Regions from separate parts of the Homo sapiens genome. Here all the other regions are linked to region 7. The links are contacts of gene promoters, found by promoter capture Hi-C in blood cells and fetal thymus (Javierre and others, 2016). All regions are on one chromosome and are shown on one strand. Each heading gives the region's core, a stretch centred on a gene start or on the middle of the fragment in contact. The rest is flanking DNA. Distances are from core to core; before and after follow the strand shown.

The links. The method cuts DNA at HindIII sites, captures the fragments that hold promoters and counts their contacts. A CHiCAGO score of 5 or more calls a contact.
Region 1: a fragment that was not itself captured here is called in contact with the fragment with the promoter of GOLM2 in region 7 in 1 of 17 cell types (fetal thymus); the score reaches 9.9 in fetal thymus.
Region 2: a contact is called between a fragment that was not itself captured here and the fragment with the promoter of GOLM2 in region 7, in 1 of 17 cell types (endothelial precursors). The highest score is 6.0, in endothelial precursors.
Region 3: a fragment that was not itself captured here is called in contact with the fragment with the promoter of GOLM2 in region 7 in 1 of 17 cell types (endothelial precursors); the score reaches 5.3 in endothelial precursors.
Region 4: a fragment that was not itself captured here is called in contact with the fragment with the promoter of GOLM2 in region 7 in 1 of 17 cell types (endothelial precursors); the score reaches 5.6 in endothelial precursors.
Region 5: a contact is called between a fragment that was not itself captured here and the fragment with the promoter of GOLM2 in region 7, in 1 of 17 cell types (endothelial precursors). The highest score is 10.5, in endothelial precursors.
Region 6: a fragment that was not itself captured here is called in contact with the fragment with the promoter of GOLM2 in region 7 in 1 of 17 cell types (endothelial precursors); the score reaches 5.6 in endothelial precursors.

The regions. Positions count from the first base shown.
Region 1 is chr15:44,728,940-44,731,639 of GRCh38, reverse strand. It overlaps the pseudogene RNF4BP. Among named protein-coding and RNA genes, the nearest start is that of TRIM69, 6.2 kb to the left of the region's middle. RefSeq lists an enhancer at 1,758-2,700. The HindIII fragment of the contact is 2,051 bases long and covers 307-2,357 here.
Region 2 is chr15:43,842,823-43,845,522 of GRCh38, reverse strand. It overlaps WDR76 (WD repeat domain 76), which reads right to left. Exons shown (of 13, transcript NM_024908.4): 8 at 1,469-1,622. Among named protein-coding and RNA genes, the nearest start is that of WDR76, 17 kb to the right of the region's middle. The HindIII fragment of the contact is 2,674 bases long and covers 6-2,679 here.
Region 3 is chr15:43,925,270-43,928,026 of GRCh38, reverse strand. The region is part of intron 1 of FRMD5 (FERM domain containing 5); the gene reads left to right. Among named protein-coding and RNA genes, the nearest start is that of WDR76, 100 kb to the right of the region's middle. RefSeq lists an enhancer at 1-112. The HindIII fragment of the contact is 5,118 bases long and covers 1-2,757 here.
Region 4 is chr15:43,876,193-43,878,892 of GRCh38, reverse strand. The region is part of intron 13 of FRMD5 (FERM domain containing 5); the gene reads left to right. It also overlaps the pseudogene PIN4P1. Among named protein-coding and RNA genes, the nearest start is that of WDR76, 51 kb to the right of the region's middle. The HindIII fragment of the contact is 2,504 bases long and covers 139-2,642 here.
Region 5 is chr15:43,901,005-43,903,704 of GRCh38, reverse strand. FRMD5 (FERM domain containing 5) reads left to right here. Exons shown (of 14, transcript NM_032892.5): 7 at 1,443-1,530. Among named protein-coding and RNA genes, the nearest start is that of WDR76, 75 kb to the right of the region's middle. The HindIII fragment of the contact is 1,950 bases long and covers 401-2,350 here.
Region 6 is chr15:43,943,146-43,945,845 of GRCh38, reverse strand. The region is part of intron 1 of FRMD5 (FERM domain containing 5); the gene reads left to right. Among named protein-coding and RNA genes, the nearest start is that of WDR76, 120 kb to the right of the region's middle. The HindIII fragment of the contact is 4,978 bases long and covers 1-2,700 here.
Region 7 is chr15:44,287,455-44,290,154 of GRCh38, reverse strand. GOLM2 (golgi membrane protein 2) reads right to left here and starts at 1,436. Exons shown (of 10, transcript NM_138423.4): 1 at 799-1,436. The coding sequence starts at 1,125. RefSeq lists a silencer at 1,160-1,519 and enhancers at 1,330-1,624, 2,020-2,089, 1,471-2,377. The HindIII fragment of the contact is 5,453 bases long and covers 1-2,131 here.

The DNA.
Region 1 (2,700 bases), core at 83-2,582, 440 kb before region 7:
TCAGCTTATTATAGTATTCCATTGTGCTTTTTGGATTCAGTCTTAGAGAAGTAAATGATCTGTGCCAAGGTTTACAGCAGATATTAAAACTCTTCGATGTCTCACTGCTGTTGTTCAGTCACTCTCTGACTTATAAGAATTTAGAGGTCAGATTTCCCCACATATTTGAACCCTTATTCTGGGTCCAGTCCTGTCTTCACTTCCACAACTGCTGTGTTCCCACAGGGAGTGGATCTTCTGGGAGCCATTTGTAAGATAGTTCAATCTGAATTTTTAACTGAAAAAAAATGAGAGAAAAATTAAGCTTTAGTAATGTCTAAATCAAGACTGATAGTAGTGTATGTATAAAATGTATAGCTATATATAGAGAATGTATACAAAAAACTTTTTATAGTTATGCATTTGAACAAAATTTGGAGGCCACTGCTGTTGAAACTGAGTGCCCCTCCCTATTCTATGACCTGATGGTAGTGAGGAGGAGGAATCTAAGGGGCACTTACATGAAGAGAAGCACAATATCATTGAACACCCAAGAAAGGGTTACTACTTCAATTAAGAGCTTTCTCTTTCCTTTTTTTTTTTTTTGAGAAAGAGCCTCACTCTGTCACCCAGGCTGGAGTGCAGTGGTGCAATCTTGGCTCACTGCAACCTCCGTCTCCCCGGGGTTCAAGCAATGTTCATGCCTCAGCCTCCCATATAGCTGGAATTACAGGTGCATGGCACTACACCCGGCTAATTTTTGTATTTTTAGCAGAGATGGGGTTTTGCCATGTTGGTCAGGCTGATATCAAACTCCTGACCTCAGGTGATCTGCCTGCCTCGGTCTCCCAAAGTGCTGGGATCACAGGCATGAGCCACAGCGCTTGGCCCACTCACTCATTTTTTATAAAGTAAAAACGGGAGACCAAAAAATCTCCTTACATACTCCTAAAAGCAAATAAGAAATAAACCATTTACTCTACTTGCAGGTTCATCTTGCCCAGTGTTTTCTTTCTAACAGAGGCAACAAATGGAGTTCTGAAAAATTTATCCCAGATTGCCTTCTAGGAAAGAGAGGATGGAGTTCGAGCATTAGCCATAGAAAGGCTTGGTTTGGGTCTAGGCTCTGTGACTTTTGAGCATGTGACCTAGAAGTTAAGTTGTCAAAATCACAGCATGTAAATCTTTGTAAAAATTAATTAGCTTATAATTTTAAAATAATGCATAGTCATTAGGGAAATACAAATCAAAACCATAAAGAGATACCATTTCGTATCCACTAGAATGGTTATAATAAAAAAAGATTAAAAGTATTGGTGAGGATGTAGAAAAATTGGAACTCTCATACACAATGGTACATTCAGCTTTGGAGAACAGCCTAGTAGTTCCTTAAAAGATTAAACATAGAGTTACCATATCACCCAGCAATTCCACTCCTGCATATATACTCAAGAGAATTGAAAATCTATGTCCACACCAAAAATTTATACATGAATATTGATAACCACATTTTATTCTCAGTAGCCGAAGAGTGGAAACAATCCAAATGCCCATTAACTATAGATGGATAAACAAAACTTAGTATATCTATACAGTAGAGTAATATTCATCAATAAATAGGAATGAAGAACTGATCCTTGCTACAATATGACGACCTTTGAAAACAGAAGCCAGTTACAAAAGACCACATATTATATGTTTCTGTTTCTATGAAATACTAATAGGCAAACCCATAGAGACAGAAAGATTGGTGGTTTCCTAGGACTAGGGGTTTGGGAGAAATGGGAGTGACACCGAACTGGTACAAAATTTCTTTTGGGAGTGACGAAAATGTCCTAAAATTGAGGTGGTTACACAACCCTGTGAATATACTAAAACCCACTGAAATGTACACTTAAATATGTTAATTGTATGGTTTGTGAACTATATCTCAATAAACAAAGATGTAAGCTGCCAAAAATGTTACACAATACAATAGGACACGAACTGGATTTAGATCGGCAAACCGTAGAACCTAGTGAGGAAATGAGAAGCCCAGCAGGAAAACGGGCGGACCCCAGAGAAGGGCTTAGGGCTCTGCGCTCCCCTGCATGCACCGGCCTACTTACCGAGATGGTACTTCTCTTGGGCCCCACAGACACCTGCTTCTCCCCGGATCGCTATTCTCGACTATTTGCGTTTCGCGACCGGCCTGCCCCTCCTCTTTCCCGCTCTGCCCAGGAAAAGCGAGCCCTCGGAAGGAACCTGGGCAGCCCCAGAAAGCAGTGCCCATCACTTTCCAGCTCCATCCACCCAGCAGCCCATCAATGACCTAAATATGCTGTCTGTTCCACCCAGTCCTGCCCGGTAGTTATTCAGCGATGAGAGAGTAGGAAGCTTGAGCTCCAGGAGTGTGCCACTTTCCCGGCCCTCCGTGGCTTCCCAGTCCCGGACAGAGACCTGAGCAAGCCGAACCCGGGTGCCTGGCTGCACTGGGCTGGGAAGGAGGACCGGGCGGCCGCAGGCCAGGGAGGGCAATTGGAGAGAGATAGAAGCAGAGGGAGGGGGAGGCAGAGGAGAAGGTACTCGACGATGGACGCGCCCAGGCTGGGGGCGGCGCCCACAGAGCAGAGCCAAGGTCACGAAGCAGAGCGTCTGCGTGCAAACTCCCGGAACTGGATAGGCTAAAACACTAGCTTGTCACCCTTTTAATTCGCTTTTACAGTTTCCGAACTGCCCAAT
Region 2 (2,700 bases), core at 93-2,592, 440 kb after region 7:
AAGCTTCCAGTTCATTCAGTGTCTGGTAAGGGCCTACTTTCTGGTTCATAGTTGGTGCCTTCTAGCTGTGTCCTCATATGGTAGAAGGGACAGTGGTCTCTCCTGGGTTTCTTTTATAAGGGCACTAATCTTATTCATGACCTAATCACCTCCCAAAGGTCCTACCTCCTAATACCATAGGGATTAGTATTTCAACATATGAATTTTGGGGAAGACAAAAACATTCAGACCATAGCAGACCATATTTTAAACACAACTAGAAAACTAAACTTCGGGCTGGGCGCCGTGGCTCATGCCTGTAATCCCAGCACTTTGGGAGGCCAAGGCAGGCAGATCACGAGGTCAGGAGATCAAGACCATGGGGAAACCCCACCTCTACTAAAAATAGAAAAAATTAGCCAGGCATGGTGGCAGGCGCCTGTAGTCCCAGCTACTCGGGAGGTTGAGGCAAGAGAATGGCGTGAACCTGAGAGGCGGAGCTTGCAGTGAGCCGAGATCACACCACTGCACTCCAGCCTGGGCGACAGAGCAAGACTCCCTCTCCAAAAAAAGAAAACTAAACTTTGATCTTTTTTTTTTTTTTTTTTTTTTTTTTTACACAGAGTCTCGCTCTGTCGCCCAGGCTGGAGTGCAGTGGTGCGATCTCGGCTCACTGCAAGCTCCCCCTCCCAGGTTCACGCCATTCTCCTGCTTCAGCCTCCCGAGTAGCTGGGACTACAGGCACCTGCCACCACGCCTAGCTAATTTGTTCCATTTTTAGTAGCGATGGGGTTTTTTAGTAGAGACGCGGTTTCACTGTGTTAGCCAGGACGGTCTCGATCTCCTGACTTCGTGATCCACCCGCCTCGGCCTCCCAAAGTGCTGGGATTACAGGCGTGAGCCACCGCTCCCAGCCCTTTTTTTTTTTTTGAGACGGAGTCTTACTCTATCACCCAGGCTGGATGGCACAGTGTCGACTCACTCCAACCTCCGTCTCCTGGGTTCAAGCAATTCTCCTGCCTCAGCCTCCTGAGTAGCTGGGATTACAGGCACCTACCACCACGCCCAGCTAATTTTTGTATTTTTTTACTACAGACGGGGTTTCACCATGTTGGCCAGGCTGGTCTCGAACTCCTGACCTCAGGTGATCCGACCGCCTCAGCCTCTCAAAGTGCTGGCATTACAGGCGTGACCCACCGCACCCGGCCACTTTAAATGTATATGTGAAAAGATCACACAAAGTGTAACAAAGTTTTCTGGCAGTTAATTTATGACCAGATGGTTAATGATATTCAAGCTAAAAATATTAAAGTTCTATAAAGCAAATTTAAATTCTTCCAGATTTCTAAAATTTGGAATCATAAAGCATCATAAAGCCCAAAATTGTAAGTCTCACGCAACATTTATAAACACATGGCTCTAGCCTATTCTCTTCCAGCCTATTTGCTTTAGTCAAACTATAATATATTCAAGAAATTTAATAACTTACCAAATCACAAAGTCCAACTTGCCCAAATTTGGCCCCAACTGCTACCAAAGTTCTAGTTTCTGATGGATGGAGAGCCATAGAGAATATTGGGCCTGTGGTAACTTTGTAAACGGTATCTTCACTAATGACCATGCCATTTAAATTGGCTTTGTAGCTAAGAAAATTACAAAGTTAAATTTTGTAAGTAAAACCAATCTCAATAGTCAAAATAAGTAAAAGATTATTCAAAAAGAAAAATCACAATTAGCAAATAAATATGGGAACTATTCAATCTCCTGGTAACCAAGGAAATCAAATTAAGCAATATTCTTTCACTTTTTAAATTACCCTTGATAATTTTAATAACACCAAAAGCTGGTAGGCTGCAGTTAAATACACATACTCACACATATTGCTAGTGGAAGAGTAAGTTCATATAAAATGTTCAGAAGAAAAAAAAAGACCTTTGAGCAACAATTCGGCAATGTGTACTAAAAGCCATAAAAATGTTCACAATATTTGATGCATTAATCTCACTTCTGGAAATCTAACCTAAAGAAATAATCCACTATCATATCCATATACTTCAACAAACACATACACAAACACACAAAGCTAAATGGAAAACAACCGCAAATACCAAGCAGGTAGGAGGAGAAGTGAACTCCTTCTACTCAATGGAATATTTTATAATTATTCAATAATTTTAAAGACTCTAGTAACATGCAACCGCAAATGAAAAAAAACATAACGCAGGCCAGGCACACTGGCTCACACCTGTAATCCCAGCACTTTGGGAGTCCAAGGCAGACAGCTCACTTGAGCCCAGGTATTCAAGACCAACCTGGGCAACACAGCAAAATCTCATCTCTACAAATACAAAAATTAGTGAGATGTGATGGTGCACGCCTGTAGTCCAAGCTACTTGGGAGGCTGAGGTGGGAGGATCATTTGAGCCCAGGAAGCGAAGGTTGCAATGAGCCAAGATAGTGCCACTGCACTGCAGCCTAAGCGATAGAGGGAGACCTTGTCTCAAAAAACAAAAAAAAAAAAAAAAAAAAAGAAAAAGAAAAAAGTGTAATGCAAAATTGTATATACATTACAACATATAGTAAAAATGTATGTGGATTCACTCATTTATTCAACACTGAACATATATTATGTGCCAGGCACTGTTCTGGTTATTGAAATAGAATTCTTGCTTATATCCTAGTGGTATTGTATATGAAGCTTATATCCTAGTGGTATTGTAT
Region 3 (2,757 bases), core at 102-2,601, 360 kb after region 7:
TGAAGTGGAAGAAATCTGAAGTTGGATCTACCAAGTTCAGGGTTCTTACCAGCTAAGAGCCTTACAAGTGCATCTGAACTCGCAGCCCATGAGAATGAGTTGTTTTATGAAAGGCAGGATTCTTATTAAAAGTCTGTATGATTTCCATCACAGAAGCATGTTTTCCCTATAGCTATCTCTGTCCCATTGCTAATCTGGTTGTTGTATGTATGGAAGCAAACTTCTTCAGCCCGTAAAACTCACATCATACTGTAGTAGTGTTTGTGAAAAACATTTTTTCATTAAAAAAAAAAAAGCACCAGCTGATCACAATGTAAAAGCCAGCTTGGTGCAAAGTAAAATTTGTAGAGAAAAGCAATGAAAATATGCTACTGTCTCTCACTGTTCCATTTCAGTTGCTCTGAGAGAGATAATAGTATAGGATATGCTGCATGGGATAGAGTGGAACATGTTTCCTCTGCTCCCAGAGAACCTGAAATACCTCTTTAAGCTCTTCTCACTCTCTTGGCATCAGTGAAGAAGTAGTTAATAGGCCCTGCACAAAGAAAGTTCTGACGGAGTCCTTTGAAAGACCTGGTTTGTGGCCCACCACCCAGAAGTCCCAGTGTGATTCATAACGAGTCTCTGTCCTGAGAGTCACTCTTTCCTGTAGGGGACCAAAGACAGGAGGAATAGGGCCTGCGAGTTCAGGCTTATGTTGTGAGAGGGAGTATGAGGCTAGCAGAAGTGATACCAGTGGGCTGGGGGAGGTCCCCAAACGCCAGTGAGACCTCCACCCCACCTGGTGTCCAGGCTCTTGACACCATTGAGAAGATAAGAATTCTTTCAAGAAATTCAAGGAAGAGTCAGAAAATAGTAAAAGAACAGAGATTTATTGAGATTTATTGCAAAGGGCAAAGTACACATTCAAGAAAAGGGAGCGTAGGCATACTTGAGAGAGTCATTCAGTGGGGTTTGGGGTTTCTGTCTTTATGGGTTTCTTTAACCAAGGGGTGGAATATTCAAGAAAATTCTTGGGAAAAGGTAGAGATTTCTCATAACTGCAGTGGCACCTATTTTTACAGCAAATATGGGTGGTCTTGGAACAGTCCTGGCGCTGGTAGGTGTGTGATCTAGTATGTTAACGAGTTTATAGTGAGGTCCTAGGAGAAACCTAGGTCAAATCCAGCCACACATTGGGTTCAGTGGGTCTTAGCTAGCTTGGTCTATGCCCTGTTTTTCAGGGTCTTATCAGCCCATAGCCTCTAGTCATGTGAAACTGCTGTCTGGAATTTTTATTCTCCTGTGACCACCCTGTATTATTCCTGTCTCAGAAGAGGAGGGGTGTTGCCCACATGTTGCCTCCTTCTGTAGTTGAGCTGTCTACTCACCTATTCTTCCAGCTCCTGCAAGGACAAACTTCTTAACATAACTGCCGCGAGATCAGCATCCTGCCCTAGTTCTCCTTGGATAGTATGTGGTGAGTTAGCAGAAGGGGAAGAGGTGAGGTGTAAACCTTTTGTGAAGGTCTTTAAAATATGCTCATTCTTGGGGCAGGGCCAGGCCCTTCTGTAATTACCCATGGCCTTGGGCCTTGGCACAGGAGAGATCTTTGGATCTTATCTTACAACCTCAATTTCTGAGACAAACGTGATAACCACTACACTACAGAAATTCCTCATACAACCTCAATTTGTATGCAAAATTAGACATAGACCCGCCAGAGATGATCATCTGAACTGAGCTGCAGAGACCACTGGGGACAGGCCAGCGATGGATGCTGTGCAGGCTCCAGATGTTTTGACAGGTTCCTGCAAGTCATTCTCCTCCCACTTCACCCTTGGCATCCAGGCAGGTCTCTGAAGTAGAAGGTTATGGGTTATAAACGGCCTAGCTTTTCACCATTTTGTGAAATCTTTTAGCAAACCTTTTCCCTTCTATTCATTCAGTAATTTATTCAACAAATAATTATTGAGGACCTGCCTGCCATGCATCAGGCCCTGTGCTAAGTTCTGGGGGAAGGATTCTGACCTCATGAAAATTACAGTCTAGAAAGGAAGCAGATAGTAAATAGATAACTAAACAAATCAACAAGATAATTACAGATTGGTATAAGTGCTATGAAGGACATAAATGGCAAAATGAGATGGAAAGTAACTGGGAAGGGCTGTACTATAGGGAAAGGCCTCTCTGAAGAGGGGACATTTGAGCTGAGTCCTCAAAAAATAGGAGTGGCTGCAGAGAGCTGCAGGAAGAACATTCCCGGCAGAGGGAATGCAAAGACAGTGGCAGAAAAGCCTTGGGGAGTTCAGAACGGAAAGGCCATGGCTGAAGTGTAGTGAGGAAAATGATTTTGGGTGAGTGCAGAGAGAAGCCAGGCTGTATAGGGCCTGGGACGCCATGATCAGAGTTTTCATTTTATTCTGAGAGCAACAAGAATTAAGAGAAGTGAGTAACATAAAGATCATTGTATGTTCACTGCCACATTGTTTGTAATAGCAAATTAGAAACAAATGTCATCAATATGGAACTGGGTAAATAATTTTAGATTCATTGCAGTGACATGCAGCAGTTAAAAACTGTGAGGCATATCTATATATATTGCCATAGAAGGATTTGCAGGATACCCTAAGTGGGAGAAAAGAGCTTAAAAATATGTTACAAAATGTATTTTTAAAAGAGGAGATGTATATGTATGTAGGTTTGCCTGTGTATAAAACATCACATAAAGGATATACAAGAGGGCTGGGCATGGTGGCTCACACCTTTAATCCTAGC
Region 4 (2,700 bases), core at 141-2,640, 410 kb after region 7:
TTGTTTAATGAGAGCACCAACAGCTCCCAGTATGATGTGGCTCCAGGTGGTCCTCTGACATTTTCCTCTTCTGATGTCACAGCATCTGCCTCTCCTTCCCCACAAGCTGAGGGGTGTAATCGTAGGTTAAGCTAAGCTTTTCATACTTTGAAAGATCCTGCAGTCAGAGCTGTCTTCATGAAGGGGCAGGCCTTTGAAAGGGTGGCAGGCGCCCTATGCAATGGGGCTGAGGACTGCCTGGGAAAGGAGCCAAGCAAGCAATATGCTGCAACCAGGGCCTTAAGGTTTCTGCTTTATCAGTGACCCATAACCTGTCCCAAGGTACATATTCCTCAAGCTGCATGTGCAAATGGGGACATCAGGGAGGAATACTGTGGAAGAGAGATCAGAGGAACAGCAAGAGCTCTAGAACAAGGGACAGAGACTCTTAATTTCAGGTTATTTCAAAACAGTTTCTCGAGCAATTAAGACCTAAATCTAAGGTAGATGCTGGCTGTTGATTTAATCCGTCCTGGCCCATGGTTCCATTCCATGGAATCCGACTACAGTTAAGTCATCACTTAACAGCGTTGACAGGGTCTTTAGAAACTGCAACTTTAAGCAAAATGATGTACAATTAAACTTTTTTTTTTCTCATCAACATTATAACAAAATGGGGCTGGGCGTGGTGGCTCACATCTGTAATCCCAGCACAAAAACCTGTCTCTACAAAAAATACGAAAATTAGCTAGGCGTGGTGGCACATGCCTGTAGTCCCAGCTACTCAGGAGGCTGAGGTGGGAGGATCACCTGAGCCTGGGAGGTCGAGGCTGCAGTGAGCCGTGATTGTACCACTGCACTCCAGTCTAGGCAATGGAGTAAGACTGTCTCAAAAAACTAAAGAACTTTAAAAAAATTATAACAAAATGATGCTGAAGAAAACATTGGAGGACCTGCTGTAACATCATTTGGCTTAAAGTCATGGTTTCCAGGAACCTGTTGACAACATGAGGACTTAATAGATATGATCAGCAGGATCATGAACTAGAAAGCGGCTTGGATTCTATCCTTGGTTTTGCCATTAACTGCCAACCACATGACTTCAGATAACCTCTTGCCCTCACTACCTTGTGGAGTTACTGAAAGATAAAATCAAAGTGCTTTAAAAAGATGAAAGCATTATACAAATTTAAGATTTTAGCACAGGGACAAAAAATACAGCTAAGACTATGAGGAGCTTCTGAAAGCAGAGATTGAGAGCTGTGGCAAATATATGAGCCGTGACGCAATGGGGAGCGTAACTAGATGGCAGGTGCCCTGCCTTTGCCCCCACCCTCTCTCCCCATTGTCCTACTCATTCATAACCCAGATTCCAGGGCTCATTCCTCTGGAGAATCCTTAACTGTGCCTGTGCCAAGACAGGCTCCACAAGGCTGGTCAGGCAGGCTGCCTGGGTGCAAACGGCCAAGCCATGAGGGAGCCAAGGAAGATGGGACACACTGCTTCTGAAAGGTTACTAACACCTTTTTAAGAGAGACCTTTGGACTGCTTCATGTCCTGGAAGAAGGGGAAAAAAGAGACCCTTTGGGCTTCTGGAGCTAGCCCTGAACCAAAAAACTCCCTAATCAACCTGACTTAGGTAAAACCTTTACTGAGCTGGGAATCTGGTTCAGTCTGGGATTGTCAGGGACTATTTCAGGGCAACAGAAGGGGACTGGCTTTTCTTGTCATAGGTCACAAAGGCAGAGAGAACCACACCAGCATCACCAAGATGGCCAGGAGTGGAAAATGCAGACATTGAGCCTAAAACAAGAAGCCATTTCCTTGGGAGCACTGTGATGGGGGCCGCGCTCACTCACTATATGCCCAAAGCCTCTGGCCTGGGTGGCTGCTGTTCAGTTGAGAGTGTAACCAGCTCCTGTTTTCCCTGCCAGGGCTTGAGTCCTGTGAGAACCTTGGGAAGAGAGAAGAGATAATGGGTAGTTTTAGGGGATAGAATACCCCTTCCTCCTACCAAATGTAAGAGAAATCCACCCCCGCAACAAGATCTTCTCAAACTGTTTTGTGCTCTGAAGTGTCTAAAGATAGGGGAGCTTTTCAGCCTATTCTAGACCCAGCTCCTTCTCAGAGGAAAAGAGAGGGAGCTGGCCAGGGACTACTCCCATGCCCCCTCAAGAAGAGCAGAGAGAGTTTCTACCCCATCATTCCACAAAGTCAGAACAGCTAGAACGGAGGCTGAAGAGACTGAGAGCAGCTGCAGAAATCCAAAAATATTGACCTTATAAGCTCAAGATGCTGTATGCTGGGTTTTTACAAGGATATTCGGTATTTGATGAAACCCAGTTAGGCATGACATATTCCCCTTCTCCCCATTCCTACCTCTCTTTTATTAAAAATTTTATAGTTACAGTGTCTATGTTGCCCAGCCTGGTCTTGAACCCTTTGGCTCAAGTGATCCACCTGCCTTGGCCTCCCAAAGTGCTGGGATTACAGATGGGAGCCATCGTGTCTGGCCCATTCCTGCCTCTTAAAGCCCTCCACCCAACAGGCAGACTTGAGACTCAAACCGTGGTCCCAGCTCTGCATCAGGGGTAGTTTGGAATTCAGATTCTTTCAAACTGGGGTAAAAACCAGGCCCAGAGTTCAGAGTTCAACAACAAGCTTCCAAGATGCCGCCCAAAGGAAAAAGTGGTTCTGGAAAAGCGGGGAAAGGGGGTGCAG
Region 5 (2,700 bases), core at 126-2,625, 390 kb after region 7:
GGACACTCCCTGGAAAGGGAAGCTGTGCTCTAGCCAGCCCTTTGCTTGCCACACAGATATTTTCCTAACTTACCTTCCCTGTGCCTCAGGTACACTAGTGGATGCAGAAGTCTTTATTCACAGCAATACCCCCTTCCACAGGTACTTTTTCCATAGGTCCTGCCTCGTCTTCATAATGTAAAAATACATCCATGCTTCCTTTATGCAACTGTGATATGGGCTTTTGAGAGCACAGACTGTATACTGTGTTTCTTCATATATTTTCCAGCAAGTAGCACAGAGGCTGGCACATAAAGGTGCTGCCTGACTAATGCCTCTCCAGAGGGACACTAGGGGGAATCTGGCCTGGGGTCAGCTTATCTTCCTGCCTGGCCATATCACCTGAGGCAAATGATAAGCTTAGAAACGAGCAACGTGCAGTCCTGTCCACCAGCCATCAGAGATGTTGACTTCACAAGCTGCCCACCCCTCCTCACTGAAGCCAAACCTGTATCTGTAGAAGTATATCTGCTTTGCAGGGCTCTGGACCCAGGCAAGAGCCTGATGGTTATTCTGCCACTGGGTCTGCAATGAGCCCATCAACACACCTGCTAAAGAGGCAGTGGGAAGGGGTGATGCCAAAGGCCCCTTCAGATGGCCTGGAGCCGGAGCTGATCTCTGCCTTTTTCAGCATCTTTCATTTTCCTGGTCATCACCCTATGGACAGACAGCTGTTGTGGAGCATGGGAGCTCAGCACTGTCTCCTGCCTCTCCTCACCCTAATTTCCTGTGTTTCCTTTTGGCAAAGGAAGAGGGCTGGGTGGCACCAGCAAGCTATATGAGCCCCTTCTTTATATTTCAGTCTAGAACAGATCACATATGAGAAGCCTATGACCTGCTTCCAGCCTACAGATGTATTTTGTTTTACCCCATAGTATTTTAAATTGTGAAATACCACATAAAAATCAGTATCTCTGACTTTTCTTTTAAAATCACAATATCTAGCTAAGCCTTGCATTCTTTTTTTTTTTTTTTTGAGACAGGGTCTCATTCTGTCACTCAGGGTGGAGTGTAGGGCTGTGACCATAGCTCACTGAAACCTCGCACTCCTGGGCTCAAGCAATCCTCCCACCTCCCACCTCAGCCTCCCAAGTAGTGGGCCCTGCATTCTCAGTGATGGGAATCTCAGAGTTAAGATGGTGCTGCCACAGTCCCCACCACTCCCCATTGTTTACACTCAGCCCAAGTAATTCATTATGTAGCCTGCCTCACTCTGAAAACGTTTGAAGACAGTCAGAGACTCTAGCAGGAGTCTCGAAGTTGGTCCTAGAACCAAGCAGGGAGCACACCCTAGACAAACTGAGATGTGTGGCTCATCCTAAGCACATCTTCATAGAGAGTTTACCTCAGGGGAACCTGTGGGAACAAGACACCTTGAAATCATCTCATCTTCTTTATTCCAGTGGTCAAACACCAGCAACATCAGAGCTGAACTTCTTAAGAAAAGCACAGACATTGGAAACATATGGAGTGGATCCTCACCCATGTAAGGTAAGACCCCCTGGTTGGAGACTGCATGACCTTTCCTCCTCTAGAAGGCATCAGGAGCAAGAGCCCCCATGCCTGCGCTCAGAGGCCCCCTTCAACGTTTACATGGCTGGCACTTTCAGTGAGATATCAGAGAAAATGCCTGCTTTGAAAACTCCTCTGGATCACATGCTACATAATTTTGTGGTGCCACATCAATGTCAGAGGAACCGAGGCAAAGTCAATCTAAATAACAAATCCAAAGCTAGGGCCCCGCAATGGGTAATTTGGTAGAAATGAAGAGAGGAGGGATATGGAAGGCCCCCCACAGAGAACGATCAGAGGCGGCTCAGTGCCTGCCCACCCTTTCCTGACCTGTAATCTAGTTTCTTTCCGAGAGTGGGTTTTATTGACTGCAGTGGCATAAGTCACTGCACGGAACTGCAGTGGAGTCACATTTAATGCCATTATGCGCCTGTGAGGGATAGACGAGAACCAGCCGGGGAGGCTGCCCAGAGAAAACCTCTGTAATTACTCATGCACATCTGGCATTTTGGAGATGAGCGGGGGCAGCCAGTCACTGCCGAGGCCTGTGCAGACCCATGGCCCCTTCCAGTCTCTCTCTGTGGCTGTGGCCCTTCACGTTACCTCCTGTCCCTGTTGCTTTGACACTCCTGGTCTCTACCTCAGTTTCTCCACATTTCTGCCTCTCTCTTTCCATTACTGGAGAGGGTCCAGTATCACCAGTAAAACCAACTGGCAAGCTGATCTGAAGGAAGCAGTATCAGCCAGGAACAGGAAGACATCAACCTTTTCTTCCTAACTGGAGAGGGGATACTAAGCTTCAAGCAAAAATTAAAAGAATAGTATATTAGTTCCTAGGGTTTCTGTAACAAGTATCACAGACTGGGTGGCTTAAAGAACAGAAGTCTATTGTCTCACAGTTCTGGAGGCTGGAGATCTGAGATAAGGTGTCAGCAGGGTTGGTTCTTCCTGTGGGCTTTGAGAGAAGGATCCTTTCCAGGCCCCTCTCCTTGGCCTGTGGATGGCTGTCATCTGCCTGTGTCTTCACGCTTTCTTCCCTCTGTACATGTCTCTGTCCAGATTTCTCCAAAGACACCAGTCATATTGGATTAGGGCCCATCCTAATGACCTCAGTTTAACTTAATTACCTCTGTAAAGATCCTGTCTTCA
Region 6 (2,700 bases), core at 82-2,581, 340 kb after region 7:
GACCTCGTGATCCACCTGCCTTGGCCTCCCAAAGTGCTGGGATTACAGGTGAGCCACCACCTGGGGAAGACATTTTTAAAAGATCTGGGGGGCAGGGGGCAGAGTTTTGCTTTCTATGGTGCAATGTGCCCTCCCGTCCATATGCCTAAGAAATCTTCACAAAGGTTATATTACACTTCAGTACATTTACAGTGGGATGCATGCAGTTGTGTGTCCAAGAAGTTCCATGTGGTGTTTTTGTATGAGTGTCCTATGTTGGCATAGGATGAGGGCTTGGCAATCATATAACAGGCTCAGGTACCCAGGACCTACTTCATTCATAATGATATTCCACTGTAACAAGTAAAAGTAATTTCATATTTTAAAAAAGATTGAAATGTCCTCAGTAGTAATTTAAATCAGTTCTCCTCTGCCTACAACTGACCGTGACTTTGGCTTTTGTTTAGTATTCTTTCTAGTTCTTTGGGTTCAGGAAAATTTTTTATTTAAAAAAAATGACATTTTTAATGAAGGGAGTCTTTACTTCCTATAATGACCAAGCACTTCCTATTGAACCAACTCTCCCACAGATAAGTGTAAATGTTGAATAAAATATAAAAAGCAACCACCTAATGCCACTGGAGCATAATAAAAAGTAGGCAGGGTAGTGTAGGGTCTACCCTTGGAAGAAGGAAATGGCAGTGGGTAAGTTTCCCATTTTTTAATGGCTTTTAGATTAAGGAGATGTCCTATCTGGTGTCATATAAACTCATAGAAACCTGCCGGGCGCTATGGCACATGCCTGTAATCCCAGCACTTTGGAAGGCTAAGGTGGGCAGATCACGTGAACTCAGGAGGAGACCAGCCTGGGCAGCATGGTGAAACCCCCCCTCTATCAAAAAAAAAAAAAATAAATAAATAAACTTATAGAAACCCACAGTTTCTATCAAACCCACAGAGGCCACAGCTTGGGATAGCCACAGCAGCTGGAAAATGAGGAGGAAAATTCCAGAAAGGAGAGAGGCAAATGGGAAGCCCCAAATTCTGTGCATAAATCCTGCCCAAATATCTGACTGACCCTTTAACTATGTATGCGTGGGACAGACTCCAAGGAACCCAGCCGGTAGCGGGTGCCTGTAGTCCCAGCTACTTGGGAGGCTGAGGCAGGAGAATCGCTTGAACCCAGGAGGTGAAAGTTGCAGTGAGCCAAGATCATGCTACTGCACTCCAGCCTGGGCAACACAGTGAGACTCCATCTCGAAAAAAAAAATTAGCTGGTCGTGGCGGCTCACACCTGTAATCTCAGCTACTCAGGAAGCTGAGGCAAGAGAATCACTTGAACCCGGGAGTTCGGGAGGTGGAGGTTGCAGTGAGCAGAGATTGCGCCACTGCACTCCAGCCTGGGCAACAAGAGTGAAAACTCCGTCTCAAAAACAAAAGAAGTGGGTCCTTTTAAGTGGTGATGGGATTTGTAAGGGCTCTGCCCTCCTGAATGGCTTAATGCGTTAATAGATTAAAGGGTTAATGGATTAATGGGTTATCATGGGAATGGAACTGGTGGCTTTCTTAGAAGAGGAAGACAGATCTGAGCCGAGCACATTAGCCCACTCTGCCCCATGATCATGTGATGCCCTGTGGCACTTCAGGACTCTATAGAGTTCCCACCAGCAAGAAGGCTCTTGCCAGATGCAGTGCCTTAACCTTGGACTTCTCAGCCTCCATAATTGTAAGAAATAAATTTCCTTTCTTTATAAATTACCCAGTTTCAGATATTCTGTTATAAGCAACAGAAAAGGACTAAGGCAGTGGCCGATGGGATATGGTACTGAAAAGATAAGTAAATGACCAATCATGGAGAGCCCCAAGTGCAAAATAACAAAGTCTGCTTTGCTCTAAGTAGAAAGAGGGGTCACAATGGCCAGATTTGGTAAGGAAAGACTTCATGGACAGTGTGGAACTTTTGCCCTGAAGGAGAGGTTGTATTCATTTTCTAGGGCTGCCATAGCAATCACAAACTGGCTTGAAACAACAAATTTATTCTGTCATAGTTCTGGAAACTAGAAGTTTGAAATCAAGGTGTCAGCAGAGACATTCTCCCTCTGGAGACTCTAGGGAAGAATTCTTCCTTGCTTCTTCCCAGCTGCTAGTGGTTGCTGGCAATCCTTGCCATTCCTTGCTTGTTACTACATCATTCTGACCTCTGCCTCTGTCTTCCCTCTGTGTGTGTCTATGTCTCTTCATGGTCTTCTTATAAGGAACCAATAACTGGATTTAGGTCTACCCTAATCCAGTATGGCCTCATCTTAACTAATTACATCTGCAAAGACTTTATTTCCAAATAAGGTCACATTCTAAGGTTCTGTGTGAACATGAATTTTGGGGGACACTATTCTACCCAGTACAGAGGTGAGTTAAAAGTATCATGAAATATCCAAGGTCTTACAGTTCTGGGCCTACTTAATCCTTAATATTAAAGTACTCTCTTACGGCCAGGAGCAATGGCTCTCGCCTGTAATCCCAACACTTTAGGAGACCAAGGCAGGAGGATCACTTGAGTCTAGGAGTTTGAGACCAGTCTGGGCAACATGGCAAAACCCTGTCTCTTTTTTCTTTTCTTTTTTTTTGAGATACAGTTTCACTGTTGTTGCCCAGGCTGGAGTGCAATGGCACAATCTCGGCTAACTGCAACCTCCACTTCCTGGGTTCAAGCAATTCTGTCTT
Region 7 (2,700 bases), core at 187-2,686:
TTAAAACTTTGTATAGTTTTCCATCTGCATAAAACACCAACCCTAATAGCAACTTAGCTATACAAAATTTCATTCTATTTTCTTTCAATGAAGACACTGACATGACATTCCACTGCTTAAAATTTATTTTCAGATTCTAATCTTTTGGCTGATTTCATTAACAATTCAAATTGAGTAGATAATGATGGATCAACTATGTCCAAGACACAAGTGTGTCTCACATATAGCTCGAGGGCCCATCTATCATAACATTTTGATCACAAAAAGGCAGTCATAGCTGATTATTTAGTTATTCAATACATCACCCTATAGAGATTTTAAAAGTCACACAGCTTAAAAAATATATGATGACTACCATAAGTAGAGGAGTCAGAGGCGGCTTCGTTCTTTAAATAACGAAATTAATATTGATCAGTGTGCACGGAATAAAAATGAGACAATAACCACACCAAACCTGGCAGTCGCCAGATTTGTGTGTCTTTGAAGGTAAGGGGGCCACACAGGCCAGATGATTACTACTGCCAACTCACCAGCTGAGCTTAGAGAATAGGCAGCATCTGCACACAGTCCACTCTTGAGAACCAGAATTTACAGTCATTTTTTTCTGGCAGGGACCAGAGAACGTGGCACTGATAAACTGGGAAAAGTCTGACAGAAACAGGGTTGTTGGGGGTGAAAGGAGCCTTCAGGACTGAAATACTGGAAGGCATAAGACAACAGCTAGCGGATTAACATCCCGCCCCAGACCCCGGGGAGAAAAGAAACCATGGGGTTTGAAGAGAAAAGGGTCGTCCTTACCTTGTCATCCTCGCATCTCTTCCCGAGGCCCTCTCTGGCCTGCAGCCGGCTGCTGAGGCGGCCGTAGTCGGCCTCCTTCTGGTCGATCTGTTTCTTGTGCGTGTCCACCAACAGCAAGAGGTCCGAATTGCGCTTTTCCAGCCGCCCGCGGGCCACTTCGGTGCGCTGGACCTGGCCCTGCAGCTCGGCCACCTCCTCCTGAAGCAGGACGTGGCGGGAGGAGATGCTCCAGTAGTTGAAGGCGAGGACGACGATCACCACCAGCAGCACCACCAGCACGAGAGAGGGCAGGCGGCCAGCCCGCCGGTTGGCCCCGAAACCCACCATGGGGCCAAATCGGGCTGTACCCTAGGGGCCTCGCCGCAGACACCTGCAGGCAGAAGCCCAGGCCTCGGCTGGAGTTGCCCGGCGGACACGGCCCCAGGGCCGGCCGAGGGAGGAGGCGGGCTTACCGGTCGGCTGCGAGCCGGAGAAGGGGGCGGGGCCGCAAGCCGCAGGTCCCTCCCCGCCCCCCTCCTCAAATCAGGCCAAAACGCGTTCCGGAGGCTTTGAACCCGACCCTGCACCTGCCCAAGGGAACCGGGAGAACCCAGCTGCCAGCGTCCCCCAAACCCAACACCTCACGGTTGGGAGGCGGGGAAAAAAACCGGAAAGGGGCGGATGTACCCTGGCCCCACCCACTAGCTGGGGCCGGGTCGTCTAGGGGACCATTTCCGAGTTTCCGTCGACACCCCTCTTGTCGCGAGAACGTTGCTTCCTCTCGTCTCTCTCTCTCTCTCTCTCTCTCTCTCTCTCTCTCTCTCTCTCTCTCTCTCTCTCTCGCTCTCTCGCTCTCTCGCTCTCTCGCTCTCTCGCTCTCTCTCGCTCGCTCTCTTTCTCTCTCTCTCTCTCTCTCTCTCTCTCTCTCTCTCTCTCTCTCTCGCTCTCTCTCTCTCTCGCTCGCTCGCTCTCTTTCTCTCTCCCCGCCCAGAGTTTTCTCTGTCGCGTAGGGTGTTGTGTTAATTTTGGCGGTCTCAGATGTCTCAGGTACCTGGGTCGGAGTCCTTTCTGTTGTTATCTACTGGATTCCCTTGATTCAAGGCCTAGGGAGTTCCTGCCCTACACTGGCCCTCGCGAAAATATTTGTCTTTGAGGACGTCTGGGGCTGCGACCGCGGAATAGAAAAAAATAGTAGGTGAGCTGCTGCCAAAAAGGAGCGACTAGAAAGGTTTTGTACTTGCTTCTGTAGAAGGGGAATTTCTCTTTTGTGCTAATGATGTGGAAAGAAAAAACAAAAAGACTGTAAAATAGCGATGCCCTAAACATAATGGAGAAAAGCGGGAGAAACCAAGCTTTAGGACTGAAAGGGGTGGTGCCAGTCTCGTTTCCTAGGTTACTGCTTTCACGAACCGAAAGAATTTCAGAATGTGGCGAGCTCCAATTTTTAAACGCACTGCTGCTTTTGCCTCAGCTGGGCTTCCAAACAGAAAGTCCAGAAGCTGCCCTCGATGAATCGTAACTAATGCACTGTTACTGCCAGCGAACACATTCCGGGTTAGAAATAATAGCTCTAACAAATTGTTTTGCGCGCCTAGTCTCATATTATCTTCTCAACAACGCAATTTTACAGATGAAGAATCCAAGACACATAGATGTTTGGGAACTTTCTCTTATCTGGTTTTAAATAGGCTTGAATCCAGATCATTGAACTCTAAACACCAGTGCTGTCTGCATATAGCAGATTGTTTATATGTTAAGTGTGAATTTCAGTAGTGCAAAAAAAAAAACAAAACCTGCCTCTTTTTTTTTTTTGCATAATTATTTTGTCCGTGCATAGAGAAATAAAAAGGTACTGGCTCTAACCTGTTTAAGGAGAGGATGGGGTTGCCTTATTTTTCAGACCTCAGGTTGAAGAACTTCCAT